7 separate regions of the Homo sapiens genome follow, and all the other regions are linked to region 7. Evidence: promoter capture Hi-C in human tissues and cell types (Jung and others, 2019). All regions are on one chromosome and are shown on one strand. The core of a region is centred on a gene start or on the middle of the fragment in contact, and the rest is flanking DNA. Distances in the headings are between cores, read along the strand shown.

Region 1 (3,829 bases), core at 755-3,254, 860 kb before region 7:
GTTCTCTCCACAGAGCAACATGAGGGCCCAAGAAATGGATGCACCAGCTATTGAGGAAGACAGATGGATAATAGGCAGGTAAAAAGGAAGGAATTACTAGATAGTCTCAGTAGAAGCCCTTCACCCCCATATACCTGCTCCTGCTTTGAAAATGCAGGTGCTAATTCACCAAACACCAACAGGAAATGAAAAGTGTATTTTCTGGATAAACTAAACCAGGCATATGTGTAAAGACAGCAGCAGTGGACAAATGCCAGGCTGAGAATGAAATGACTCTATAAAGTCCTGCATACTGACCAGTGAGCCTCTGAGTCCCTCTCTTTGAAGTTTTTTTCTGCTTCCTGTACTGTTTCTTCTGAGAAGTAAGAAGTGATATATATATTTTTAAAGTAACAAAGAAAAAAGGAGGAGTTTGGAGACATTTTTTTAAATCTCCCCTTCTTCCCCCCAAAAAAACCAAATCAGTAAAATATTTAGAAGATAAAGTCAAGAAAATATGCCAAAATATAGAAAAAAGGTAGTCACAGATAACTTACAGGAGAAAATCTCTAAAGTTAGAAGATAAATCCGGGAGGTCTACAATTTGAATAATAGAAATTCCATAAAGAGAAAATGAAAGGATATAAGTCAGAGATAACACAAGAAAATCATCTAGAACTAGAGATGAATTTCCAGACCGAAAATGAATTAAAAAAAGACTTTCACACTAAATCACATCATTACAGAATGCCAGAAAAAGAAAAGATGATATTAAAATATTTTCAGGGGAAACAGAGAAAATCCTTCATATAAAGCCTGAAATTCAAATGGCCTTGGATTTCTCAGGAACCAGTATTCAAAGTTAGAAGAGCAATGCCTCAAAATTCTGGAGGAAAATTATTTCCAGTTTGGAATAGTCATCAATAAAAATGCAAGCAAAGTATGAGAGCTGAATAAAGATAGTTTCAGACATGGAAGGACCTGAACATGTTTACCTTCCATGTGTCTTCTCTTGGGAAGCCACTAAGTAATATGCTCCACCAAAACAAAGAAATAAAGCAAGAAAATAGAAGAAATGAGGCCCAGAAATCAGAGAACCCAACATGGGAAGGCAATAAAAGCAATTCCCAAGATGACTTTAAAACAGGGATTCTCAACCTTGGCTGCACATTAGAATGGCCCGGGGAGCTTTTTTAAACCCTGAAGCCCAGGTCACAATACAGCAGGCTCTCTGGAGGTGCAACCCAGGTATCTGTGATTTTTAAAGCTCCCTAGGTGAATCCAGTGTGCAGAGGAGGCTGAGAACTACTGTGTTAAAGGAAAGTCCCAGAACAACAGCTGTGCGCCAGGCTTACAAACACCCAGGACAGGTTAAAGCAGGAGGAAAGAGGGATCCAGGAGGGAGAGAAAAAAAAAAATCCACAAGTTATCTGACAGGCATAAGTTGGAAAATTGTTTAGAAATTTGCGTCAAGAGGCATTTTGTAGAACAGTCACAAAAGCTGTCAGAAGACAGTCAAATGTTCAAAGGAAACTAAGAAAACGCTAAAATAAAATGTTTAAAGAGTTGTACAGAAGATATAACCAGAGTATACCGACTGGCTTGGCAGTGAGAAAACGTGTATATAGTCATAATAGGGAAAGCTCAAATTACTGAATAATTATAAGAATGAGAGGAAGAAATGAGTTAATAAGGTCTAAAATTGATTAGTCAAGAGATACCAACACATATTAACAGATATTCGGAGCTAACTAAGAAAAGAAACAGGTGGTGGGTTGCATAATGGCCCCCCAAAGACGTCCCAATCCCTGGAATCTGTGAATGTTTCTTTATGTGACAAAAGGGACTTTGCAGAAATTAAGGATCTGGAAGTGGAGAGATTAGCCTGGATAGTCCAGGTGGGCCCATTGTAATCAAAAGGGTCATTATAAGAGGAAGGCAGAAAGGTCAGGGAGGGTGCAGAAGGTTGGGTGAGATGGAAGCTAAACTGGAGCCATGCAGCCGTGTGCCAAGGGTTTGCGGGGACAGGGGACAGATGCCCCCCGGAAGCTTCAAAAGGAACCATTCCTGTTGATACCCTCATTTTAGCATTTTAAAACCCATTTTTATTGCTGACCTCCAGAAGTGTTAAGAGAATAAATTTTTGTTCTATTAGGTCACTACATTCGTGGTAATTTGTTACAGCAGCAAAGGGAAGTGTTCAAATGTTGCGGTGGAAGTGGGATTCAAGCGGCGCAAAGGGACACATGTTAAGTACTTTATTTGACTTCTTAATGAATGAGCATGTGACACGTAGATAAAAATTACAATAATCAACCTGCACTGAGTGCTCACAGTAGTGTGAGAGAGGAGAGCTGGAGAGGCATGAGCTATAGAGCTTGGCCCCTCAGACATTAACGTGCACACACATCTTCCATGGACTGTATTAAATACAAGCTCTGATTCAGGAGGTCTGCAGTGGGGCCTGAGATTGATCTGCATCTAAATCTTTGCTCCTGATTTCAAAAGCTTTGCTTCCCCTTACCTTGCTTGCAAAAGCTTTGCTTCCCCTCACCCCTTTGCAGAAGCAAAGATTTAGACTCGAGGCCAGTCCTCCAGACCCCAGAGGACTAGAAAGGGGCCATTCTAAAGAAAGAGACAGAATCTAGAATTAAAGGAGAGACGGAGGGACAGAGAGAGGAAAGGACTTTGTGCCTAAGCTAAGACATTTTGATTTTATCCTTGAAGATATGGGGGACCACTGAATGATTTGGGGAAGTGAAACACCAGGATAAGATTTTTTCACATCGTTATTCTTCGTTGAGGAAGTAGGGGCATAAGGCCGGGTGCGGTGGCTCACACCTGTAATCCCAGCACTTTGGGAGGCCAAGGTGGGTGGATCATTTCAGCCCAGGAGTTTGAGATCACCCTGCGCAATGTGGCAAAACCCTGTCTCTACAAAAACTACAAAAGTTAGCTGGGCGTGGGGGTGCGTGCCTGTGGTCCCAGCCACTTAGGAGGCTGAGGTGGCAGGATGGCTTGAACCTGGGAGGTGGAGGTTGCAGTGAGCCAAGATCATGCTGCTGCACTCCAGCCTGGGTGACAGAGTGAGACCCTGTCTAAAAATAAATAAATAAATAAAAAATGGGGGCAGCAAACCAGAGACTAGAAACCATTTCATATTTGACTAGAAATATGCAGCGATGGTCGCTGAGGAAGGTCTGATGATGCTGGTACTTCTGCCTACACACACAATACAGAGAACTATATTAATCCACATGTAAAAGTGAACCCTGTAAATATCTCTTGTCTGAAGTCCTAAGCCAAAAGGAATTTTCTTGTAACCACTAAAGGATTTTTCTTGTAATCTTTTACATTGACATAATTTTCTAGTATTTATTAAATCCCCATCTGCCAATGGCAGATCCACTTTTAAAGGAGAAAAGTACAAGAGGAAAAATCTTTTCAGGAAAGTTACATTAGGTAGTAAAATTAAAGTATTAAAAATTATATATAAATTCTTCCAGCTCATCACATCCCATATAGATGGCAATCACATAGTGTTCACATTCTATAAGTTGACCATAGCTAAAGTAAACTGCAGGTGTCCTCTTTTTACAAAGAAATGTTCTTCACAGAAGTGCAATGTACATATTTGATTTTCCTACACCATTAGAAATGATTCTGCAAAGCATTCTCAGAAGAATTCTATGCATATGGATGAGACAGAATGAGAAGAGTATAATATGGGTAAAAAGTCAATTAAATATATTGAACACTGAAACCGTATTAATAGTTTGGGGTCAAAATCGGAGCAGCTATTGCGTGGAGTTTATAAGGAACCGTCCTGGGTCCAATCTCCCTCCATATT
Region 2 (3,977 bases), core at 395-2,894, 650 kb before region 7:
TATAAAATGCAAGGGAAACTCTGTTAAGTTTGGATTTCAGATCAACAACAAATAAGTTTTCAGTATAAGAATGTCCTATGGGGCCAGGCACGGTGGTTCACGCCTGTAATCCCAGCACTTTGGGAGGCCAAGGCGGGTGGATCACCTGAGGTCAGGAGTTTGAGACCAGCCTGGTCAACGTGGTGAAACCCCGTCTCTACTAAAAAGACAAAAATTAGCCAGGCGTAATGGCGGGTGCCTGTAATCCCAGCTACTTGGGAGGCTGAGGCAGGAGAATTGCTTGAACCTAGGAGGTGGAGGTTGCAGTGAGCTTAGATTGCGCCACTGCACTCCAGCCTGGGTGACAAGAGCGAAACTCCGACTCAAAAAAAAGAAAAAAGAATGTCCTATGAAGCCAGGCACAGTGGCTCATGCCTGTAATCCCAGCACTTTGGGAGGCTGAGGCGGGTGGATCGCTTGAGGTTGGGAGTTCGAGACCAGCCTGGCCAACATGGTAAAACCCCAACTCTACTAAAAAATACAAAGAATTAGCTGGGCATGGTAGCGGGAGCCTATAGTCCCAGCTGGTAGGGAGGCTGAGGCAGGAGAATCGCTTGAACCCAGAAGGTGGAGGTTGCAGTGAGCCAAGATCGCGCCATCGCACTCCAGCCTGGGCAACAAGAGTGAAACTCAGTCTCAAAAAAAAAAAAAAAAAAAAAGAATGTCCTATGAAATATTTGGCACATAAATACAGGATGCCCAGGTAAATTTAAATTTCACATAAACTATGTACAGTTTATTTTATTTATTTTATTTTATTTTTTTGAGACAAGGTCTCTCTCTGTCACCCAGGCTGGAGTGCAGTGGCACGATCTCGGCTCACTGCAACCTCCACCTCCTGGGTTCAAGCGATTCTCTTGCCTCAGCCTCCTGAGCAGCTGGGACTACAGGTGCATGCCACCACACCCAGCTAATTTTTGCATTTTTAGTAGAGATGGGGTTTCACCATGTTGGCCAGGCTGGTCTTGAACTCTTGACTTCAAGTGATCCGCCCACCTCAGCCTCCCAAAGTGCTGGGATTACAGGCATGAGCCACCGCACCCAGCCAAACAATGTGCAATTTTTAAGTATAATTACATCTTGCAATATTTGGGATGTAGTTATGCTAAAAAAAATTCATCACTCATTTGAAATTCAAATTTAACTGGACATGCTGTATTTTTATTTGCTAAGTCTGGCCATCAGTATGTGATGCTGAATAAATGCTACTTACCAGTGCTGTGAACTCCAGGGCAGAGCTCCCTCCTGTTACACTAACTAGCCTGGAGAGTTCCGCCACCAGAGAGCCAATTTCTCGGCCGCCTTTGGGTGCTGACTCAGCTCTCTGATGACCCAAGTTTATGAGTTACCTGTGAGAATATCTGGGCCCCCAGTTTTCTCAAGAGTCAGCCCCAGATCCCCAATTCTGCCTCTCAAAATCGAGGAATAGGAGCCCTGGCTTTTTCCAGCAGCAGCTGGAATCAATAAGCAGCCCTGATGTGTGGGGTGGGCTGGAACACAGCCTGCTACCTTGAGCCCTGCAGTATTGATCGCACAGGCAGCTGTCTGTAAACCAAGCAGGCATGCTGAAATGGGGTAGTGTTGTCAGCCTTCACTTTCATAGGGATGACTCTTCAGATTTCTCTCAAAGCCTGTCGGGCTCAAAGGGAAAACCAGCAAGTTCTTTTTTTTCACTAATGTAATGCCTTGGGGAGCTGCCGCATTACATTCTTTTTTTCTTTTTTCTTTTTTAGTGCAAAGTTGTGGGGGTGGAAGGCAGAAACCACAACAATCCTCTCTCTTTTGGGACTCTCTCTCTTAAATGTGGTCCATCATTCAGTTTTAATAACTGAAGCACAAAATATGAAAACTAAAAAAAGTCATTTTTTATCGAAAGCCTCAAATGTACTGGGCATGAGAGCGAGCAGTTTGTATGTCTTGTGGTGTTTTATGCTTCTAATGATTCTCTGAGATTGATATTTATTACTATTCCCATTTTACAGATTCAGAAATGGAGGCTCACCCAGGCTAAGTAATTTGCTCAGGGCCGTGCGTCCCGCAGTGAGTCTGCTATGGTCGAAACCCAGGTCTGTTTGACATCTAACACTACTGTCTGCTCAATGAGCCCAAGACATTGCAAACACTGCTGGCTTGTCATCCTAGCTTGTCCTTTTAGATTCCTGAGTGATGAACATCCTCTGAGAAACTGTCCCTGGTTGCTCTGAAAAAAGCCGGGTACCTCCCTCTGCTCTCAGATGACTTTCTTCCCACCTGTGTGTTGTAGAACCTCCCTGTGGGGCTGTAAAAACACATCCACCTTTCTGTGTCCTCATTAATCCACAAGGTCCTCCAGGGCAGCGGCAAAATTGTTTTTCTACCAAGTGTGCTCCTCTCTAGCTGCAGGGACTAGACTATCGTTTAGCACACAAGCTCTATAAATATCTGCTCGTGGTTATTACTGTTTTGAAATCTCTTTTCCCATTTGTTTAGGGAGCTTCAAGGATGCTGTCCTGTCACCATGTTTCATTGTGATGCCGGTCTTCTGCGTTCTTACCTATGTTTTTTACACCGAATTTTGTATTGGCCTGTCCTCATTGAGGACTCATCTGGCTGGTCCATACCAATATTAACAGAAAGTTCTTCCATGGTTGAATGACTGAACAAGTATGGTTGCCATGATGACTATATTTGCACAAATCCAAGTTGGTCTTCTCAATGGTTCTTCCTATAATTTGGTAGAAGGGTATAGAGGTAAATGAACCCAATGGGTAGCCAAATTCCTGCACCTGGGATCTCAAGGTCAATGTTTTTTTTTATCACAGTGATATAGGGTGTCTCTTGGAGACTCAAGAGAAAGAGGGTTGTCAATGAGAGAGGGTAAAAGATGACAGAGTGGCTTTGATCCTACCTTCTCACAAAAGCTTCTTAGAAAAGTCAACCTACTTTTGAGAGGAGCACAGGTTCTCACAAAACCCCTTCCAGGAAGTAGAGAAGCAAACTTTGCCATGATTCTGCTACCAGGAGTAAACATGTGATCCCACATGTACTCTGCCCCTTCAGGGATGAAAGAGCTATGAAGCTGATGGTTGATCCTCAGGGACAGACATTGGCTGAGAGGACTTGATGGATTTCAGATCTGCCCACCTGAAGCCCAAACGCTGAGGAAGTCTCTAAATGGGGATTATAGCATTTAAACATTTTTTATCTTTATGTTCTTCTGCAGGTCTGAGGCCCTTCAGACTAACAGTGATCCCCCTGTCACATTAATTCTTCTCACATAGACTGTTTTTCTTATAGGTCCTATCTGGGGCAAAGATGACTATGACAGAAATCTCAGCTTGTTCTTGCTGACAGAGTTAAATTTGGTCTGTGTTTGCTCTGCACAAGAAGAAAGCCTGAACTGTGCTGAACAACTGTCTTGAGGGCACGTCCAGAGCCACGTTTGTCTCTCTCATGTTCCTCCTTTTATTGTTTTTGTTCCTGTACATATTTCAGTGATGTCAGGATTTTTTTTAAGCCTCCACCTTAGGGGAAGCTCAAGAAATGGTCTGTGTTAGCACTGGTGAGGCCAAGACAGTTTTATGCATATAAGCCTGGCTGTTTGTTGATCCCTTGGAATGAGAAACCAATTGGAATATCCTGGCTGTGAGAAATATAACCCTTGACCAGCCAAAGTCATTTGTCTGCCTTCCCTGTTGAAAGAAGCACATTTAAAATTTCTCACCTGGGAGAAACTTCCTGGAAAGAATATTTCATGCAAAATAATACACTTCTTGGACCTGAGTTGCAATTTGGATTAGAAAAAAATGACCTCATTATGTCTGAGCATATATTTTTGTTAGAAGCCATTCTGAGAACAAGAGCATGTGGCCGGGTGCAGTGGCTCATGCCTGTAATCCCAGCACTTTGGGAGGCCAAGGTGGGCGGACCACTTGAGGTCAAGAGTTTGAGACCAGCCT
Region 3 (3,783 bases), core at 953-3,452, 910 kb before region 7:
TGGAGGAACGCCTGGCCGCTGCCGTTCAGGCATTTGGAAGTTCTTGTGTGCTGGAGATGTGGCTGGGGTTTGTCTCACAGTGGAGGCAAGGAATTGCAACTTTTTTCTATTATTGTACACCTTGAAGGCGAGGTTAACTAAATCCTGTTGTGGGGTTTGAGGGCCGGAATTTAATTTTTGGAGTTTTAATGTCTGGAGCAGATTGGGTAATAAAATGTATTTTGAGAATAAGACGGCCTTTTGACCTTTTAGGGTCTAGGGCTGTAAAGCGTCTCGGGGTTGCTGCCAAACAAGTCATGAACTGGGCTGGATTTTTATATTTGATGAAAAAGAGCCTAAACGCTTCTGATTTGGGATAAAGAAAAAGGAGCATTAACCTTGACTATGCCTTTAGCTCCAGCCACCTTTTTAAGAGTAAATTGCTGGGCAGGAGGGGGAGGGCTAGTCACGGAACGAAACTGTAAGCCCGACCAGGTGTGAGGAGGGGAGGCGATAAAAAGATTATAGGGTGGAGGAGCAGAGGCTGAGGAAGAATTGGGACCTAGCTCGGCCTGGCGAGGAACAACCTGGGGAGGAAGGGAGAGGTCAGATGGGTCTGCAGAAAAGGAAGATTAGAAAGACTCAGCGACACTTGGGGTTGGTACTGAGGGGACAGGCGGGAGGGAAAGAAGGAAGATTTGGGACGAGTTGCACTGGTCACAGAGACTAGGAAGGGACTGATGTGTAAAAGAATGCCTGGACGTCAGGCACCTCAGACTGTTTGCCTATTTTACGACAAGAATTATTGAATTTTGCAGGATGGAAAAATTCAAAGTGCCATTTTCTGGCTATTTGGAACTACTGTCGAGTTTGTATTGGGGTCAAGCAGCATTGCAGAAGAAAATAAGGCATTTAGGTTTTAGGTCAGATGTGAGTTGAAGAGGTTTTAAGTTTTTGAGAACACAGGCTAAGGGAGAAGAAGGAGGAATGGAAGGTGGAAGCTTACCCATAGTGAAGGAGGCAAGCCCAGAGAAAAGAGTAGAGACAGGGAGAAGGGGCGGAGGGTTCTTGCCCTCCAGGAAAGCAGAGAAGGGGTTGGGGCAGGGAAATAAGGGATTGGGGCACAGAGATAAGAGGTCAGGGTGCAGAAATAAGTGATTGGGGCACAGAGATAAGAGGTTGGGGTGCGGCGGAAATAAGCGATTGGGGGGTTCTTGCCCCCTAGGAAAGCGGGACTTGCCGCTAAGGGTGAAGGAGAAGGGGTTGAGGGGTACTTGCCCCTGCCCCAGGAAAGCAGCACTTGCTGCTAAGGGTGAAGGGGAAGGGGTTGAGGGGTACTTGCCCCTGCCCCAGGAAAGCGGGACTTGCCGCTAAGGGTGAAGGACCAAGGCAGGCGTCCCTGCATGGTCTGACACCCTTGAAACGTGAGTGTATACTCAGAGAGGCGTCCCTGCAATGATCAAACACCAAGGGAAGGCTGCCTTCCCAGTCCGTGACCGGCGCCGGAGTTTTGGGTTCACGGATAAAACATGTCTCTTTTGTCTCTACCAGAAAATGAAAGGAATTGAAATTAAGAGAAGGGAGAGATTGAAGTGTGGCGCCACGATTGAAAGGAGAAAGAGGTTGAGGGATAGTGAGGGAGGTTGGAGAAGAGAGTAAAAAGAGGCCGCTTACCGGATTTGAAATTGGTGAGATGTTTCTTGGGCTGGTCGGTCTGAGGACCTGAGGTCGTAGGTGGATCTTTCTCATGGAGCAAAGAACAGGAGGACAGGGGATTGATCTCCCAAGGGAGGTCCCCCAATCCGAGTCACAGCACCAAATTTCATGCGCGTCCGTGTGAAGAGACCACCAAACAGGCTTTGTGTGAGAGCAGTAAAGCTGTTTATTTCACCTGGGTGCAGGTGGGCTGAGTCCGAAAAGAGAGTCAGCGAAGGGAAATAAGCGTGGGGCCGTTTTATAGGATTTGGGTAGGTAAAGGAAAATTACAGTCAAAGGGGGTTTGTTCTCTGGCGGGTAGGAGTGGGGGTCGCAAGGTGCTCAGTGGGGGTGCTTTTTGAGCCAGGATGAGCCAGGAAAAGGACTTTCACAAGGTAATGTCATCAGTTAAGGCAAGGACCAGCCATTTACACTTCTTTTGTGGTGGAATGTCATCAGTTACGGTGGGGCAAGGCATATTCACTTCTTTTGTGATTCTTCAGTTACTTCAGGCCATCTGGGCGTATACGTGCAAGTCACGGGGGATGCGATGGCTTGGCTTGGGCTCAGAGGCCTGACAGTAACACGTTTTAACTTTGCAAAAAATGTTTTGGCATTAATGGGCTCAAAAAGTGAAAGGAAATGTGTAATGGAAAATCAAATACTTTGTTCATGAGAATGTTAATGACAAACCTATAAATCCCAAAATGTTTATCAACACTTACCATGGGGGCTATATGACATCACTCACCACATGAAAAATAGAAAACACGAATCTGCTAAACTATTAGTATCTACTCTCATTCGAGAGTACATTTGAGATACATACTGTGCATGAACATGAGGACTTGACACGTGCAGACAAGGAAAGTATCCTGTGAAGCATGGCTTTTCATTTGGATCAAATGACTGCCTCTCTAAATCTGCACTCTGTGTCTGTTGTACACATACAAAAAGTGAAGCTGATGGGGTTCAGGGCATGCTGCTCCAAAATATGGTTCCTTGGCGTATTGAATATTTTAAACGGAAGAAATTTGAGGAAAACAGCAGAAGCGGGAAAGTGTCTCTGACTTTCCCCCAGCCTCCTTCCCTGATGCAGTTCATAAAACCTAGGAAAGATTTTCTGACCTTCCCCTGAAAGAGGTCATAGACTCTCATGTAAGATGTGCCCTCTCTATGCCAGGAAGAAAGGAACATCCTTATCCCTGAAAACAAAAGGTCACAGAAGGGAAACTGAACAAACTGGCCTTGCTGAGTTTCCCCAGTTTATAATCATCATGTCATACTTTTCACCCTATTATATTTCTCTATGACTCTCCTCTCTTCATCAAACCCAGCATAAAAATACACAGGTTTAAAAAATACACAGGTTTAACTGTTTCTTCAGGTATTTATTTCCTTATGAAAGCTCCCATTTCATGTAAAATGCATGTTAAATAAACATGTAAGCTTTTCTCTGGTTCATCTGTCTTTTGTTATAGGGGCCTCAGCCATGAACCTAAGATGGAGAGAGGAAAAGCTGGTCTCCTCCCCTACAAAGCGATAGATGGTAAGGTGCTGGATCCAATGGCAGAAAAAAAAGTTTCAAACAATTAAATGATGCCACTTTTATAGAAATGGAGTCAGATGCTTCATATTGGAAAACAGTTATTTTCAACAATGATTCCTTTTATTTTCATCCAATTCATGGTATCAAAGTAAAACATTTGGAATTTTATTTTGCTGACGGTAAAAACATCTGATATTACTAGAGTGAGATGTCATTGTAAATCCAGTTAAATGAATCAGTGCTATCATAAATTGTTTTTAAAAGTTCAAACTAAAGTTATCTTTGTGTCATAATTAAGTACAAATTTTGGCATAGCACAGTGTCATTGTAAAAGCATGTTTTTTCTAAAGAATTATGGAGCAGAAATGTACTGGGAATTAGATGTGCAACATGATTCATACTTGTACTCAAACAAGTAGTGATAATCTACCAATCAAAATAGTAGCAGTCACGAAGAATTTATAAATATGATATATATGTATACACTTAAAATATCTAAACTATAGTTTTTGCAAAAATATGATTTTAAATACAAGGCAGTATCATGTGTTTTTCTCTCT
Region 4 (4,216 bases), core at 1,694-4,193, 630 kb before region 7:
AGTCCCTAAAGAAGGACCCTTCCTTGACTCTTCCTAGCTTCTGGTAGTTGCTGTCCATCCTTGCCATTCCTTGGCTTCCATCTGCACCACTCCTATCGCTACCTCCATAGCCACATGGCCTTCTTCCCTCTGTGCCTTCCTATCTCTGTGTGCCCTCTCCTCTTCTTACAAGCACATTGGTCACATTAGATCTAGGGCCCACTCTAATCCCATAGGACCTCATCTTAACTATTTATATCTGCAAGATCCTAGGTCCAACTGAGGTCACATTCTGAGGTTCTCAGTTGGATCTGAATTTGGGGTTGGGGAGTGCTATTTAACCCACTATAATGGTGAAGAGAGAAAAAGAGAAAGCTAAAGGCAGAATCATGAGACGCACGAACATTCTGGTCGTTAGTAGGGAAGTGTTAGCAAAGGAAAGAGAAAGAGAGAGAGAGAGACCACATTCCTAGCTGCTGAGAGGCCGGGTGGGGATGCAAGCAGGTAACTGTGTGTGACCATCAGAAAACACTGGTAACGGCAGTTGGGTGACTAACTAATATATTTCACCCAGGACTAGAGTGGCAGTCCAGGATGCAGAACTTTCGGTGCTAAAACCCAACAGTACCAAGCACACTGGAATGGTTGGACACTCTACCTGGGAACCAGCAGTTCTATTAGAACTGAATGTGGGGAGAACGCACGGCTGAAGCTTAATGGCTTGGGGAATGAGTAAGCCTTAAGAAATGTACTTGCCTGGGGCGTGATTCTGGTTGCGTTGTTTTTCTGACAATTCAACCACATTTGGAATTTTCTTACGTAGGATATGGGCTTGAGTTTTTAATTTAAAGTCTTCGGGTAAGGTCAGCTCAGTCCCTAACCACCGGACATCGTGGAACAACCAAGTTATTGGAGATTAAAGTGTCCTTCAACTGTCATGAATGCCACTCTGACCCTCCTTGTCTGGAGGGGACCTCCAGGGCATGCTATTTAAATGAACCCAATTTTGAAAGTTCACCTATCTCTACTGAATGTGATAGCTATCTTGCTCTGCCTTCAGAGCACTTATCTTCAAAGTATTCAGCGCCAGGCAAAAGCCTTGATTTTTCCTTGAAAAAGAAATTGTCAGGATGTCTGAATCCATCCAGACCTTTGCATGTGTGATTTCATTATTCATAGTCAGCATTCCTCTTCTGGCTTTTGATCTGTAGTTTACAGAATGTGTGCATAAGGAGGCTCTCTTTCCCATAAACTGATCTCTTTACCCTCTCAGCCCGGAATAACTTTCCATTTATTCTTTTGATAAAGCGTTGATGCCGTGAGCCAGCATACATTAAATTTATCATGATACAAACACAGCACTACACTCTTATCCAGCCCAGATCAGCAACCAGATCACTGCCAGTGCCCCTCAAGTGTCTCTGATGATGAACAGCAAAGGGGACCTGTGGAATTTCTCACGACCATCAAATCTGAAGAAGGAATTCTTCTGAGAGCAGTTTGCAAAGTCTATCACCAGTATCCTGACTCTATTATTAGCTTGCAAGGTAGTTAAAGATATCTTCTCAGCCTTGACTCACTAATAAGCACTTTTAAATATATATCAAAAAGCCCTCTTAATTAAAATGCTTCAACTGCTTTCTACCTCTCTTCTGATAAATGCCAATATCATTAACATGGCTGCTCAGAACCCTGCCTGCCTCTCCAGTCTTGCCTGGCCCCAGACTCCTCTTTCCCTTCTGCTACTTCCCCTAAGTTGAATATTTTTCATTCTTCTTTCACCTGCTTATCTCCTACTCATCCTTCTCTTGTCATGTCAATTATCACTTTCTTGAGGAAGCTTTTCCTAACCCACCCCATGTCCCATCCACCTACTTGCCCCTGATCCCCAGGATACGTTAGAGACCTTTGCTTTCACAGAACTGCTACCAAGTCAAGATAGGCTGACATGTGACCATAGCAAGCACCACCAAAACCTCAGGGTGGATGAATGAGGATCCACACTGCTTGAGACACTCAGCTTCCAAGGCCAAGTCCATGAACCTGCCCTCTCCTGGGAGCGCACGGTGTATACATGTATATAGATGTGTATTTATAACCCAATTATTGTAACAAATTATTTATTAGATATAGACATCCATATCTTATCTACATTTCAAGATAGAAGTACTTTGGAAATAGGAAGATACTGTGTCTGTTTCACCTTTGAGTCTCCCACTGTGCCTATAATCTGCACTGACAGACATGAGATGTTCCATAAAGGTCAATTAATTAATGAATGAAATCATGAGCAAATGATTTTTGAAATCATTTTTTCTTACATATTTTTGAGAAATGTAAGCATCTTTGTGTTTTCCCATCAATATTTTTAGAAAGCTTCATTTTTCAACAGCTCTGATTAATAATATAATTGAAAAGCAAAGAAGTCTTTTTAAATATGTACTGTATAAGTCTGTGATACTTTTGATCCCACAGAGAGTCAATTCCATTTAGTTCAATTCAGCAAGTGTTAAGTGCCTATGATGTCAAATGCCTGTAGTGTGGCAACAGAATGCTTCATTTCAGTGGGATAATTTGGGATGAAAAACTTCTAAACACGTTTCAGCTCCTAAGTCTGACTTCAGCAGTCACAAAGCAATTCTCCCATGTTTAGACTATAGCCATTCATTCATTTGTTCAATAAAACTTTATTGGACATCTATTAGATATGATCATGACTGCTCTGGATTAGATCTCTTGAAAACTGTGATACAAAAGAAGAGATTGTGCAAGGTCTTTCCCACTTGGAAAGAAAAGTTAAATAGATAAAGCACCTGAGTAAGAGTAAGCACTGAGTAAAAGACCTGGGTTTAATTTCCCACCTCATTCTGTTGTTAAGTAGTGAAGTGAGCTTAGCAAGTCACTCCATAGCTCTGGGCCTCAATTTGTTATCTGTGTAGTAAGGGCAGTAGACTGGATGATGTCTAAAGAATATTAGAGATTAGAAAGTCATTGTCCTGGATGGCTCACACCAGTCACTGGAGTTGCTTGGCAGGAAGGCATAACAGCATTTTGTACATCTAGAGCTCTGTCCCTCTCATGGGGCAAGTGATGGAAGAATCCAGTGGCAAAGTTAGGTTTAGCAGGAAGTCCTCTCCCAATACCAGGGGTCTGAGTCCCGGTGCCATGCTTTGTTTACCTCTATCACTTGCAAGGATGAAAAAGCATCTCTAGGCCTGGCCCAATGTATGGAATCTAATTCATGGGACTAGATATTTTATTAGCATTTCCAGCTGAATGAGTGATTTGGGGTTGGACAATGTGACAGTGAATAGATGACATATTCCTTAACTAGTGAGTATGAAACTGCATAGAAATAAGATTTCACAATGTTATGATATTAATGTACTTTCTAATATTTTACATGATCCATATGAAGACATATAATTTACAGTTTAGGGTAGATGTACATAGGTAACAAAAATAACTGGAGACTCCTTTTGGAGAAGTCTGCAATTGGATCAATTAGCATACATTCCCTTACAAGTGACTCAAAACCCAACTAGCAAAGACGGAAATTTTAGGAACATTTATTGTTTACCCAGCAAGATGTCTGAAGAGGGTGGTTCCAGGTGTCAGGGCCTGGATTTGTGTCTCTGCCATTTTCTTGCTTTTTCCCAGTCACAAGATAACTAACACAGCTGCAGATATCAAATCCTCACATGACTGATGACTGTAACTACAGAAAGGAAGCAGGGGAGATGAACAGACCTCTCCCTTTGTACCTCTCTCCTAGTATTAGAGAGAAAAACACCTTTCCAGAAGCTTCCCCAGCTGACCTCTCCTCTGTCTCAGCAGCAAAGAAAGTTTGAGAAAGCAGAAATCTGTGGTTTTCAGCCTCTACTTTGGAAGGAAGACAAATTAAAAGCAAGTTGGGGATGTCTGTGGATAGGCTGCCAAAGTGCTTACCAGAATCCATCCCACAGGCCACCCACCATCTGTAGATATCTTTCCTCTCCCACAGCCACTGTGGGTGGAATGCTGTGGCCCATTGTCTGAGAGAGAACTCCACAGGATCATCCAGTTACTGTAGCTAGCACCAAATCTTGCACATCTGGGTGATTTGTAGTCTCCATGCCATCACATCTCGGTGTAGATTCCTACGGTGTAGCAGTTGATAACTAAAAGAAAATGTGTCTGCTTCAAATGCAATGATGCTGAAGTTTAATTTACCTTTCATTAAAACTTGCAATTGGAA
Region 5 (4,202 bases), core at 1,163-3,662, 740 kb before region 7:
TCCCTCCTTGGCCTAACCTTGACCCTATGCTTCAGTTTTAGTTCTACTTTTCTAAGAAGCAATCTATGATTCAGAAGTAGAGTACTCAGCCAGCTGGCCAGCTGTCTGTTTTACTGTCTCTCCATGCATATACATACATCCATGCAGTCAATTAACTGCTAACTTTTATTTAGCCTATGCTATATACCGGGAATACAAAGGTGAATGAAGCCTACCTCTTGCCTTCTAGAGGTTCATAGCATGGTGAGGGAGGGAAGTTTTGAAGTGTGGCCTGGGATCACAATGGAGGAGTAAGCTGGGAAGTAGTCAGGTGGTGATATTTAAATAGGTAAGACCATAACACTGACATTGATTTCTTTAATGGTTGGATGTTTACTTAATCCTGCTGCCTATCTATAGTGTAGTAGGCCCCCTCTTATCTGTGGGTTCTGTGTTCCAAGACCACCAGTGGATGCCTGAAACCATGGAAAGTACTGAACCCTACAGATACAGTATTGTTTTCCTATAGTACTGGTCCCTTCATACACAATGTTTTTTCCTATATATACATAATTATGATAAAGTTTAATTTATAAATTAGGTACAGTAAGACATTAACAACAAACAATGCAATGGAACAATAATAACTATAGTTGTAATAAAACTTATGTGAGTATGGTCTCTCTTTCTCTGGAAATATATTATTATAACCATGGAAAGCAAAACTGTAAGAGAGGACTACTATAGTTTTGTTTCTTCCTCCTTCTTAGTAGCTGAGAAGCAATATAGAGCAGGCACTCTCCTGTGTTAGGGACAGGGATCAATCATAACATCTTTACATGAAGGGTGGTGAAACAGAAGGGCAGGAGTGCATTAAGAGTCAACTAGGATGGGGGGATATGACTCAAGTGCTCCAGCTCCCAAACTGAAAGCCAGCAGATTCAAAAGAGGGAGAGCTTATCTTGAGAAAAAATGTCATGGTGCCACATAAGGTAGGGACCAGCTGTGGTGGTGTAGCTGGCAAGTCTAAAATTTGTAGGGCAGGCCCACAGTCTGAGAGCTTTCAGATAGGATGAGATTCTTGAGGCAGTATTTCTTCTTCTTCAGAGAAACTTCAATTTTGTTCTTAAATCCTTGCAAATGATTGGTCCATATAGATTGGCCCACATAGATTATCAAAGATAAACTCCATAGGTGTTAGCCACATCTCCAAAATACTTTCATGGCAACCCCAAAATCAGTGTTTGACTAACTGGGTAAGCATAGTGTAGCCAGGTTGACACATAAAATTAACTGTCACCATGTTCCTGGGTTCAAGAACTTAAAGCCAAATATGCAACCTGGTTTGGCAAGCCTGTGATGAGTTCAGGGGCTGCAAGTGCTCTCCAGGCTGTCAGGAAGGACATGGTTGATGACAGGAGCAAGATTTTCTGACCAGTCACATTTATTCACATTTTGGTTTAAAAAAGCTGCTTTTTAAATTTGTTTATTTTTATTTTTTTGAAAGGCTCTGTCACTCAGGCCGGAGTCCAGTGGTATGATCTTGGCTCACTGCAAACCTCCGTCTCCCGGGTTCAAGCGAGTCTCCCCCCTCAGCCTCCCCAGTAGCTGGGACTACAGGCGTGTGCCACCACTCCCAGCTAATTTTTGTATTTTTAGTAGAGACGGGGTTTCACCATGTTGGCCAGACTGGTCTCGAACTCCTGACTCTCAGTTGATCTACCCGCCTTGGTCTCCCAAAGTGCTGGGATTACAGGCATGAGCTGCCATGCCTGACCTCAAAAGCTTCTTATATTATGAGAAAGTAGAGCCATGACTCACACTGTTATTTTGAGTAAATGCAAAACAGTACTTAAAAGATCATTCTTGTTATTATTTATTTACTTATTCTAGACCTTTTCTGACAGTGTGAAAAAGATTATTCTTAAAAAATCATTATCTATAGTGAAGATTTAACTTTGAGGAGTTTTTAATTATGCTGGAGAGTGGAGTAACATTCATTTGGGGTAAGCCTAAGAGTTTTGTTTCCTAACATGTTTGGCCTCTGATTTTGTTGTTTCGCCCTTTTATTTATTCACTAGTCTTGCTGTAGATACTAATGCTTGCCTGTGGTTTAAGAGAAATTAAGCAACTTAAAAACAGAGCAAATAGAAATGTAGTTAGCTTTGCCTTTCTTTTTTGCTTAATGTAAGGGTTTCGTGGGAATTGGTGTTTTGGGAGAAGTTCAAATGTATTTGCTTTTGGCAATGGAACAATAATGGTAAAGGTAGGGTGTCTTAATGTAGATTGGTTCAATTTAGATATGAAAGTCTGAAATTTATATTGGCTTGAAGATTTTAGGGCAGGATAATTTTATAAATTCTCGTTATTGTCATTTTATTGTGTCTGACACTTTTTCTTGAATGTAAATTCTCCTCCCCTCCTTATTCTAATCTGCATGTATAATACCTCTTTTACCCAAATTATATTGATTTGCCAGCAGTCTTTCTTGTTTCCTCTCTTTTTTTCTCCTTTCCACTTGCTGTTGTTTAAATTCAAAGAGTTTTCTTTGTGGAGACTGAACCTAATAGTAAGACAGCATAAAACACTGAGTTCAGCAGAAAGTGATTTGCTTGTGATTAACCCTTGAGAATTAACTCACTGCAAGATAACAAAGAATGAATGTTTTCCAAACATCTGGCTCATTCTTCTTTTCCATTAGTAGATGAGACCTCTCCATTTACCCTCTAGGTGTTAGGAATTCTCATACTGTTTCACTTAGGCTTTATCATACTCGTCACGGCATATTGTTAGAAAGTAAGTCCAAAAGAGAGTTCATGACATACCCTTTCTCTGCCACAGACCTCTCACAGTCCTTGCAGCAAAAGGCAGTTAGTGTCATTCTTTTAGTTGTTCAAGACAATAACCTTGACTCTTCTCTTTTCCTTTTAGTTGCTCAAGACAACTAAAAGGTCCTTTTAGTTCCTTTTGGTTGCAAAGACTTTATTTTCTTTGTCTTCCGAGAGACTTTTGGATATATTTACCTGGTCCAGGGTATTTTGAAGCATGACCATATGTTAGATTCTTAATTACGTTTAACTAGCATTGTCCATTATATTTTCTCATTTCAAAACCTTGACTCCATATCCAGTGTCTCAGCAAATCCTATTGGCCTTACCTCCGAACTCTATCTAGTATCTCACCACTTTCCTCATTTCCATCATTAATCGCTGTAGCCCAAGTGACCATTATCTCTTTCATGGATTATTTTAATAGACTTACAACTCATCCCCATGCCTCTGCTTTTCATCCTCTACAATCTATTCTCAACATGACAAGTAGAATGATCCTTAGAATTTTAATTGAAATAATCTTAGGCCTCTGCTCAAAACAATGATGTACTGTATCACTCGGAGAAAAGCTAGTCTTTATGTTGACCATATAAGGCCCAGCATGATCTGCTCCCCTTGTGACCTGTTCGACCTTGTTGCCTATTTTTTTCTCTTTCTCTTCCTGCTGTATGCACACTGGCCTTCTGGCTATTCGTTAGGCACACTGGGCACACCTGTGCTTTAGGGACTTTACACTTGTTCCCATTGCTAGTCCAAAATCTAAGGAATCCTTTTTCTTGCTTTAATTTTTTTCCAAAAGTCATTTTTTTCAGTGAAGCTTGCCCTACTCACTTTAAATTTGTTGCTCTTGTAGCAGGACAAGCCGCAGGCAAAACCTCTCAGACATCGAGTTGTAGAAGGAAGGGCTTTATTCAGCTGGGAGCATCGGCAAGCTACTGTCTTAAAATCCAAGCTCCCCGAGTGCACAATTTCCGTCCCTTTTACGGGCACACAACACTAAAGATTTTATATGAAAGGGTTGTGATTGATTGAGCAATCTAGGGGATATGTGACGGGGTTTCATGCACTGGTAGTCAGAGTGAAACAGAACAGAGCAGGGAGTTTCACAATGTTCTTCCATACAATGCCTGAAATCTATGGGTAACATCGGGTTCTAAGTCATGAGTTGATTTTTAACTACTAGGTTTAGGCCATGCAGGCTCGGGCGTGGTTTTGGGCCTGGGGCCAGGCTGCCTGTCTTTGATTTCACTTCCTTGTTTTTTTCTTAAAACAGGTACTGAGTATAAAATATAAAACAATGTGAGAGGGTCTCTCTCTTCCCTCACTCTCACCATACAAACACATACCTACTTCTTTATCTGCTTAATTTTTTTCCATAGCACAAATCACTGC
Region 6 (4,405 bases), core at 443-2,942, 900 kb before region 7:
GCTGTTTCTTCTAACACTTTGAGAAATTAAAATCTCAGGTTGCCTCATTGGTCATAGGAAATGCTTAACTGCCCCTGAAGACATAGGATTTAGAGTTTCCACAGCATCCCAAAGAGCCTCACCTATTGTATCAGAGGAAATATTATTTAAAGGGATGTTTTTAAGTGACCCACCTTAGGTGCCTCGAAAAAACTAATAGAGAACCCTAGAAAAATAAAAAAATATATTTTTTACATATAAAAGCAATTATTGAAGAATAAATGTATATGTTAAGAAATATGAGAAGACTGATTTAAATTAACAATGATTAAAAAATAAAAATCAATCCACCTAACATACACACTTATTGGGGGCCTACTGCTTAAGTGTCTATATGACATTTCAAGAAACCACTGCTTCTTTCCATGGCTTGGTTTTATCATAATTTCTGCCTTCCTCCTTGTTTACTCTGTCTCTGGCTTTTTACTGGTTCCGATATTTCCTCCAAGCCTCTGTGAATTGAGGCATAGCTTTCCTCTTTCATTCTTTGGAGAAGCTCAGTCCTCATCTATCAGTCTTTAAATGGTGACATATCCTTAATTTAATAGTAATTCAAATATATTGATATAATTTAAGTTGCTAATTCTATATATTAATTTTGTCCACTTGTTATTTGCAGAACATGTCCTAAATAAAAGTTTAATTTATGGCCTCTCCTCTTACTTTTGTATGATATTCTTTTATGAACAGATGTTTTAAAATTTAATGTAGATATAGTTATCTTTTTTGTTATTGTTGTTTATACCTTGGGTCTTACAAAATCCTTTCTCAGCTCTATTTTATAAACAGCCTCTTTTATTTTCTAAAATGTAAAAGTCTTCCTTCCTACTTATAAGCTTTAATCCAGTTAGAATTTTTTTATGAATTATGTCGGGACCTAATTTCATGTAAGTACTCAATTGTCCCCACAGCATTTGCCAGAGTCTGTTTCCCCCCAGTGATGTGCTCTGCCCCGTCTGTCATACAAAAAACTAAAAAATTCAGAAATGTTGGGTGTGCTGGGCCAACTGCATACCGCATTAAATACACAATTAAGTCCCCATATATACTTCTTTATCTTTAGGAGTGAATTGGTTACTCTCAGTTCTTTGCTTTGATTCCAATTTATGTGAATCTATAGCTTATTTGAGAGCTCATTCCTATCTATTAACAAGGTATAACTCTCCATTTATTTATTCCACAGCATCTTTCTACAAAATTTAAGAATTTTTTTTCTTTTCTTTTTTTTTTTTTTTTTTTGAGAAAGAGTCTCGCTCTGTCACCCAGGCTGGACTGTGGTGGCGCAATCCCTGCTCACCGCAAGCTCCGCCTCCCAGGTTCACGCCATTCTCCCGCCTCAGCCTCCCAAGTAGCTGGGACTACAGGAGCCCGCCACCACGCCCGGCTAATATTTTTGTGTTTTTAGTAGAGACGGGGTTTCATCTTGTTAGCCAGGATGGTCTCGATCTCCTGACCTCGTGATCCGCCCACCTCGGCCTCCCAATGTGGTGGGATTACAGGCGTGAGCTACCGCTCCCGGCTAATTTTAGAATTTTTTAAAAAGGGTCATTCATATTTTTGGTTGGATCTTTTTATTAGATTTTTTATTTATTCCTAATGTGTAGAAATGTAGTTTTTACATATTGATCTTATATCTACTAACAGTGCCAAGCCTTTTTTTCTTCTAATAATTTGAATGTAAATTCTTTTGGATTTTCTACGTAAATAATTGTATCATCTGTGATTTATAAAGGCTTTTTTTCCCCCTTTTCAATCCTTATATCTTAACGGAAATGTTTTTAATGTATTTTTATTATTATTATACAGTTTTGATCCCTTTATGAGGCAAAGAAATTTCCCTTCTATTCCTAGTTTCCTAGAAGATTTTACCACAAGTGAGTATTGTAATTTAGCAAATGCTTTTTCTGTACTAATTGAGATGATCGTATGGAGTTTCTTTTATAATTTATGAGGTGAATTATCTCAGTAGGTTTTTTGTTTTGTCTGCAATAAGCCAAGCTTGCAATTCTGGAACAAATTCTATCTCATCAGGATATGTTATGCTTTTTCATATTTATTCTGTCAAAATCTTGTGATTGTTTTGAATCTATGTTTATGAGTGATAGTCTATTTTTTTTCTATACGGTCTTTGTCTAATTTTAATTCAAAGTCATGTTTACCTGCTTAATCATTTTGGATAATACTTCCTTCTTTTTAATCAGAAAAACTTTCTAGACATTTGAAATAATCTGTTCCTTGAAAGTTTAATAGAATTTGGCTCTAATATGTATAGGCCTGGTCTTCGTTTAATGGGAAGACAGTAAGACATAGATGTTGATAGTGTTTGTATCATTTTGCATGCCCACCAATAATGTGTAAAGTACCCACTTCCCCACAGCCTTGCCAACAGAGTATATTGTCAATATTTTAGGAGGGTTTTTTTTGCCAAATAATTGATAAGAAATGGCATTTTGGTTTAATTCTTTTTGAAGTCTGCTTGGTTGTCTTTCATTATCTCCTATTTTTTCCTCATTATTTCAAATCCAATTTTTATTTCATCAAACGTTTTATACATCGTGATTTTAAATTCAGTATCTAATCATTTTAGCATGTGAAATCATCTGGCTCTAAGTCTTTCTATTGTGTTTGTGATGTTGAATCACAACCACTTGTTTCCTTGTGTGTGTGGTAAGTTCCAGTTATTGTTTTATGCCTGGGATACACCACTGAACACAACAATCCAATGGCCCCACCCTTGTAGAATGTGGAACATACATCACCACAGGGAGAGGCGAAGAGTAAACAGTCAACAAAACATACAAGGAAATTATGTTTTAAAAGTATGTTAGAAGTTGAAGAGTGCTATAGAAAAAGGGAGGGGAGCCTAGAAAGGGGACTGCAGGAGCCAGGGTGAGAGGACAGGCAGCAGCTTTAACTAGGATGCCAAGGTAATCTCACTGAGACCGTGGAATTCAAGAAAGTAAATGAAGGAGGACAAACCATATGGATATTTTGGAGAATAGTGTAGACAGAGCACCCAGTGCTCTCAGCAAGAAAGCTGGTGTGGCTAGAGAGAAATGAAGAAGGAGAGCAGCAGGAGAGCCAGAGGGCTAAGAAGGAGTCTGGATCATGCAGCACCTGGTAAGCTGCTGGAAGGACTTCGGCTTTTACTCCAAGTGATTTGGGGGTGGCGAAAGCCATTGGAGGGGTATGCAGAGTCAGAATCTGACTTCTGTCAGTCTTGTATCGAGAACAGACTGTAGGTAAGTAATTGTGGGAGTAAGGAAACCATCTAGGAGACTACTGCAAGCATCTGGATGAGCACTGAGAGAGGCTGGAAGCAGGATAATGATGATAAGGGTGGTGAGAAGCTGTTGGATTGGATGTATTGGGAAGGAAGAGTCAAGAGGATTTGTTGATGGCTAGCTGTGTGGGTGTGAGAGAGGGATTGCACCGTTATGGAAACAGGAAAATGTGCAGACAGAGCACTAGGGTAAAGGGGATCAAAGGTTAGGTTTTAGACATGTTAAGGCTGAAATGTCTATTACATATCTTGGATAAGTAGAGATGTGTTGGGTAGGCAACTGGGTACACAAGTCTGGAGTTTGGAGGAAGGGGTCTGGGCTGGAAATAGAAACTTGGGAGTCATGAACATATAGATAGTATCTAATTTCATAAGAATGAATGAGTATCTAATTTCATAAGAAAGAATGTATTAAGTGAACATCAGTTCAGAAAGTGGTCCAAGGTAGATCCCTGAGGCACTTCACTGTTGAAAGGACAGGCAGATGCAAGGAATTCAGCAAAGAGGGATGAAAACGGGTTATCACTGAGGTATATGAAAACCCAGGAGAGAGTACAGTGTCACAGAAGCTAAGTAAAGAAACAGTTTCAAAGAAGAGGGAGTGATTCACCATGACAAAGAATGGCGATCAGTCAAAAGAGGAAGATTGAGAAATAATCGTTGGATTTTGCAATGTGAACATTTTTAGTGACCATGAAAAGAACATTCTTTTTGATGGGTAGATTCTAAAACCTTGTAACAGTGGGTTTAAGAAAAAAATAAAGAAATTAGAGATAGCAAGGAGAGGCACCTTTTGATGTTTTACTCTGAAGGAGGACAGAGAAACAGGGCAGTAGCAAGAAGGAAATGTGCTATCAACAGAATTTATGTTGATTTATGTTTTATGCTGATGGAAGTGTTCTAGTCGAGATGGAACATTCAGCAATTCAGTAGAGAGGAGAGAGTATTATTAGAACAAAGTCCCCCAGGAGGTGGAGAAGAAGATAAATCATAAAGCAAAGCAAGCACAGAAGTGCAGATGTCTGGAGGTCAACAGAGGTGAAGGTGGGAGCCTGAGGAACTTCCCAGGTTTCTCTTGCTGCT
Region 7 (4,394 bases), core at 1,251-3,750:
AAAGCCTTTACCATCTACTTTAGAATCATGTAATACGTTTAATATGTTGATTTACTATCATATGCTACCAATGTGTACAAAGATAATTCAAAGAGTGTTGCTGTTTACAACCAAGAATCTTAAATTTTATTCATCTTAAAAATAATTGAATTGTTCTCCATGGAATAGCCTCATGTGATTCCCCACTTTGTTTTGATATGGGTCCCTGGGGAACAACAGTCATGCTATGTTACTCTTGCATATTTCACTAGCTTACAAATAAAATAACACACAGTGTACTCAATATAAAGTTGTCAACATTAACTTGCATCAGTTGCTGTTTGTTTCACATTGACAAGGCTTCTAAAGATAAGAATTACAATATTCTTAGATGTACAGACACAACATCAAAACAGCCTGAAGGAATTAAAGCTGGAAAATGCTAGAGGCAATCACGCTTTGAAATGAAGAGAAATCAGTATCATTTATACGTACACATATATTTCTTCAAAGGCTCTAAATAATGCCAGAACAATATGCATTTTATGCAATGCTCATCCGTCTTCCCTCACAATATTCCGAAAGCACTTTAACTGTTTAACGCATCTCCTCCAAGAGGGCTTTCACTTTTTCAAACTCATTATCACTTTCAAATCTGTATATTACAAGAAACTGGAATGAGCAATATCCATTACATGAATAGACATTATTAATATAAAGTCTCTATCAAAGTGGCAACGCTAGTAAAACAAAAGCAGAGTGTGTTAACCATAAACTAAGTACCAGCCAATATTACCACTTTGCTTGACAGAGCCGTCTCCAACAGCACGCACCCACCTCTCGAGCGGGCCCACCAGCTCAGCTTTCCAAGCTCGCTCACCTGCGTCTCTCCTCCAGGAATCAATTTCCTTCCCACTTTCTCCACCCTCTTCAGATCCCTTAAGCACGCTTCATTGCTTTCTCCAAACTACCAGACTCAAATCTGCAGCCCAGTTGGCCAGGAACCTTTCCATACGCACGTATTTCCTGCATTCTCCTGGGTCTGCTTTTAAAAATTGCTACCACCAAACAAATGCAATCTTAACAAAATTGGGATTACAAAGCCAGTTTTTTTCATGTAATGTTACAGCAGTGAAAGATTGAGGGAGAGAAAAGGAGAGAAGCAGGAGTGTATCTGGGTGAAGAAGCGTGGCTCAGTGGCTATACAGTGAGACGCAGAGATTCCACAGAGCTGGGCTTGCCCACCTGTCGACCCCACTTTCCCCATGTGCTCGCCGCGGGATGACAACCACAACACTCCAGAACCACCCCCCTTCCGAAAGAGGGCGGGGTTACGCCTTCAGCCAATCAGGACCCGCGAGCCCCGGGTGTCCAACCTATGGGGTGGCTGTGGCCGTGCAGGGGGAGGACGTGGGGTGGTCTGGGAGGGGCCGCGTCCGTGGGAGGCTCGCACGTGTCGGGTCCGGAGAGGCGGGGAGGCGGCCGGCGTCCAGCGGCCGAGGCGCGGGCTCTGCACCCTGGCAGCGGCCGAGTCCGGCTGCCCCAGTGCCTCCTTTACCTCGCGTTGGGCCAGGCAGGGCGCGCTCCCGCCGACGAAGACCTGTCCAAGGTGTCCGAGCTCCCCGCGAGAGGGGACAGTCACGAATAACAACAGTACCCAGCGCAGACTAGGCGGGGAGGAAAGTTTCCGGCCCGCAGCAGAGCGGAGTCCGCCAAGGCTGGAGGAAAAGGGATGCAGAGCGGGAGGGTGAAAACCTGAAAGAAGAGGGCAGCGGGAACACTGTGTGGGCAGGAACGGGTCCCGGGGGCGACGCCCGCAGGGGGAGACGGGTGCGGGGTGCGCTGTCCAAGGTGCAGGGGAGGTGACTGGCGCGCGGCGGGCGCGGAGCCCGGAGCTGACACTGGCTGGCGGGCGGAGGGGAGAGCGGGGAACAGCTGTCTGGGGCGCTGGGCACCCCCGGGCGCGTAAAAGTGAGGGAGCTTGAGACGGGGCACGGCGGGGAAGGGCGTGGGGGCTGCACCGAAGCCCCCACGCGTCCACGCACCCCTCCTCACCAGCCTCACCTCTAGCTCCACTCCCCTCCCCCCTCGCCCACTCCCCTCTCAGTCTAGATCCAGGTGCCGTGGCGGGGGTGAGACCAGAGGACCCCGGCTCGGAGCCCGGACGCCCCAGGGAGGCTGCGGGCCCCGGAGCTGCTTACCTGGGGCCGCCGTATGGGGAGCGGAGGCAACCCGCTGCGCGGAGTGGGGCGCCGGGCGCGGCGCGGCTCCTCCTAGCCTCGGCGTCCTCCTCCTCCTTTGCTTCTCCCGGACTCTGTCCCGGGCACGGAGCTGGGAGACGCGGCCGGGCTGCAGTCGCCGTTCCCTCTGCTGCCGCCGCCGCTGCAGCAGACAGAGGACGCCCCGTGGCGGCTGGAAGCCTGTGTGAGTAGCGGCGCCCGGGAGAGCGGGGATCTGCTGAGGGGCGCTGGAGACTCCGCGGCTGGAGGCGCGCGGGCGTGCGCACGCGCGCCTGCGAGTGTGAGTGTATGGGTGCGCGCGCGCCCACGGGGTGGGGGAGTCGCGAGGGGAGGGGGAGAGAGGCCGAGAGATGCTCGTAGGGACCGAGGCAAAATTCTACGACCCCGGAAATCCGTAAACGCGGGGAAGGAGGATCGAACGCGTGTCTCGCTTGGAGAAGCTGCCCACGGGGCGGCAGCAGAGGAGGAGGGGAAGTCAGCGAGGCGCGCTAGGGCTCCGGATCCCAGCCCGGCAGAGCCGAGCGGAGCGCGCAGCCACCGATGCAGCAGAGGCGGCGCCCGCAGCCCACGGTCGCGCTGCCCCCTCTCGGGAGGGGCCGAGGCCGCTCGCTCCCGCCACCGCCGCCGCGGTCGGGACTGCTCTACTGGGAGCGGGGGAACCGAGAGAGGGACCGCACGGTTGCTACGGCGACCTTGGAGGGGCCGGGCCCGCTGAAGGGCCAAGAGAAGAACCCGGGCGCACGTGGCCGACTCCAGGCTGGAGCGGGCGTGTTACAGGATTGTGGGCTTGGGGTAGACGGTGGAATTGGGCCGCGTGGCCTGGGCAGATGATGCGGGGTGTGCGGCCCAGAGTGGCTCGGCCGGGGTGCGGTCAGCATTCAGGTTGGTAAGGGTGAGGGGATCCTAACCCCAGGTGACATGTTGCCTTTTTTTCCTCCTTGGAGGCTACTTTTTCTCAAAGTTACCCACTTCCCAGGTAAGAATGCCGGCCTCCTCTTTGTTAGGATTCAACTTAGCTGTGCAGGCATCTAAGCAGTGCCTCCTTAGAGTCAGGCTCGTCCAAGAACCGCTCCCACCACCTCCCCACACACACCCACATCCCCCGATCCTCCATCCCAACTACATTGTAATACTTCAGAAATAAATGTTTAAAGCACATTTACATTCTCTGCCTCTTAACAGATATATTGTCTTAGTAGTATACTTTTCCTTGCTTATTTTAAATTCTGAGTGGGATTTTATTCACACAAGCATTTCTTCAAGGGTCGTAAGGTCTGGGTAATACTTGAAATACCCTTTCTGGCAGGAATCCTCAATGCAGGGATTGTGTTTTGCACACTTTTGCATGCCTTCCAGTGCTTAGCATAGTACTCTGTACTTTGTGAGTTCCCTGTAAATGTTGAATGAATGACATTGTTTTCTAGCTTCACGTAACCTGAAGGCAAAGACTTGGATGCTGGGAAAGTCATTACCACCCCACTAGGCTTGCCTGATTTTAACTTATGCCATTTCCTTGTGTGTGGCTATTTTTCCCCCTGGCGGTCAGAACCCCAATGCAAAGAAAGAAAATAATACTTATCCATTGTGCACCCTTAACAAAGGATGCATGTAGAAGCACTCTGCAGGGACCCCAGTGGGATGCCCTGGGTGTGAGGGGGCCAAAGCTCAGAACCTAACCTCTCAAAATGTGAAAGTCAGTGTTCACCAGCAGTTTATACTGTCCCTTCTAGAGCAGAAGGATGGGGAAAACAGTTTTAAGAGAAATACACTTTTGTTTTTTGTTTTTTGAGACGGAACCTCGCTCTGTCACCCAGGCTGGAGTGCAGTGGCGCGATCTCGGCTCACTGCAACCTCTGCCTCCCGGGTTCAAGCGAATTCTCCTGCCTCAGCCTCCTAGTAGCTAGGATTACAGGCGCCGGCCACCACGCTCGGCTAATTTTTTTTTTTTTTTTTTTTTTTTTTTTTTTTTAGTTTTTAGTTTTTAGTAGAGACACAGTTTCACCATGTTTTCCAGACTGGTCTCCAACTCCTGACCTCAAGTGATCCGCCTGCCTCGGCCTCCCAAAGTGCTGGGATTACAGGCATGAGCCACCGCTCCAGGCCAGAAATACACATTTCTAATAGCTTATCAGGTACGCATTTTTCTCCTGTAAAGAGTAGTGTTCATGGACACTG

Evidence for each region. The method cuts DNA at HindIII sites, captures the fragments that hold promoters and counts their contacts. A contact is called where the count stands out against the background at its distance.
Region 1: a contact is called between a fragment that was not itself captured here and the fragment with the promoter of ENOX1 in region 7, in 3 of the 25 tissues and cell types used here (H1 embryonic stem cells, lymphoblastoid cells and mesenchymal stem cells).
Region 2: a fragment that was not itself captured here is called in contact with the fragment with the promoter of ENOX1 in region 7 in 4 of the 25 tissues and cell types used here (H1 embryonic stem cells, bladder, dorsolateral prefrontal cortex and 1 more).
Region 3: a fragment that was not itself captured here is called in contact with the fragment with the promoter of ENOX1 in region 7 in 2 of the 25 tissues and cell types used here (heart left ventricle and lymphoblastoid cells).
Region 4: a contact is called between a fragment that was not itself captured here and the fragment with the promoter of ENOX1 in region 7, in 5 of the 25 tissues and cell types used here (bladder, dorsolateral prefrontal cortex, hippocampus and 2 more).
Region 5: a fragment that was not itself captured here is called in contact with the fragment with the promoter of ENOX1 in region 7 in 3 of the 25 tissues and cell types used here (IMR-90 fibroblasts, dorsolateral prefrontal cortex and lymphoblastoid cells).
Region 6: a contact is called between a fragment that was not itself captured here and the fragment with the promoter of ENOX1 in region 7, in 1 of the 25 tissues and cell types used here (lymphoblastoid cells).

The regions. Positions count from the first base shown.
Region 1 is chr13:42,920,481-42,924,309 of GRCh38, forward strand. The region is part of intron 7 of EPSTI1 (epithelial stromal interaction 1); the gene reads right to left. Among named protein-coding and RNA genes, the nearest start is that of LINC00428, 50 kb to the left of the region's middle. The HindIII fragment of the contact is 3,812 bases long and covers 99-3,829 here.
Region 2 is chr13:43,135,801-43,139,777 of GRCh38, forward strand. The region is part of intron 1 of LINC00400 (long intergenic non-protein coding RNA 400); the gene reads left to right. Among named protein-coding and RNA genes, the nearest start is that of LINC00400, 25 kb to the left of the region's middle. The HindIII fragment of the contact is 5,587 bases long and covers 1-3,977 here.
Region 3 is chr13:42,870,905-42,874,687 of GRCh38, forward strand. LINC00428 (long intergenic non-protein coding RNA 428) reads right to left here and starts at 1,840. Exons shown (of 5, transcript NR_126389.1): 1 at 1,654-1,840. RefSeq lists enhancers at 1-166, 1,747-2,535. The HindIII fragment of the contact is 4,549 bases long and covers 1-3,783 here.
Region 4 is chr13:43,153,166-43,157,381 of GRCh38, forward strand. The region is part of intron 1 of LINC00400 (long intergenic non-protein coding RNA 400); the gene reads left to right. Among named protein-coding and RNA genes, the nearest start is that of LINC00400, 42 kb to the left of the region's middle. RefSeq lists an enhancer at 547-1,070. The HindIII fragment of the contact is 3,377 bases long and covers 1,256-4,216 here.
Region 5 is chr13:43,041,652-43,045,853 of GRCh38, forward strand. All of the region lies in intron 1 of DNAJC15 (DnaJ heat shock protein family (Hsp40) member C15), which reads left to right. Among named protein-coding and RNA genes, the nearest start is that of DNAJC15, 20 kb to the left of the region's middle. RefSeq lists enhancers at 1-254, 3,947-3,996, 4,097-4,156. The HindIII fragment of the contact is 4,545 bases long and covers 141-4,202 here.
Region 6 is chr13:42,889,038-42,893,442 of GRCh38, forward strand. All of the region lies in intron 10 of EPSTI1 (epithelial stromal interaction 1), which reads right to left. Among named protein-coding and RNA genes, the nearest start is that of LINC00428, 18 kb to the left of the region's middle. The HindIII fragment of the contact is 3,443 bases long and covers 1-3,414 here.
Region 7 is chr13:43,784,472-43,788,865 of GRCh38, forward strand. ENOX1 (ecto-NOX disulfide-thiol exchanger 1) reads right to left here and starts at 2,501. Exons shown (of 17, transcript NM_001347969.2): 1 at 2,181-2,501. The HindIII fragment of the contact is 9,406 bases long and covers 1-4,394 here.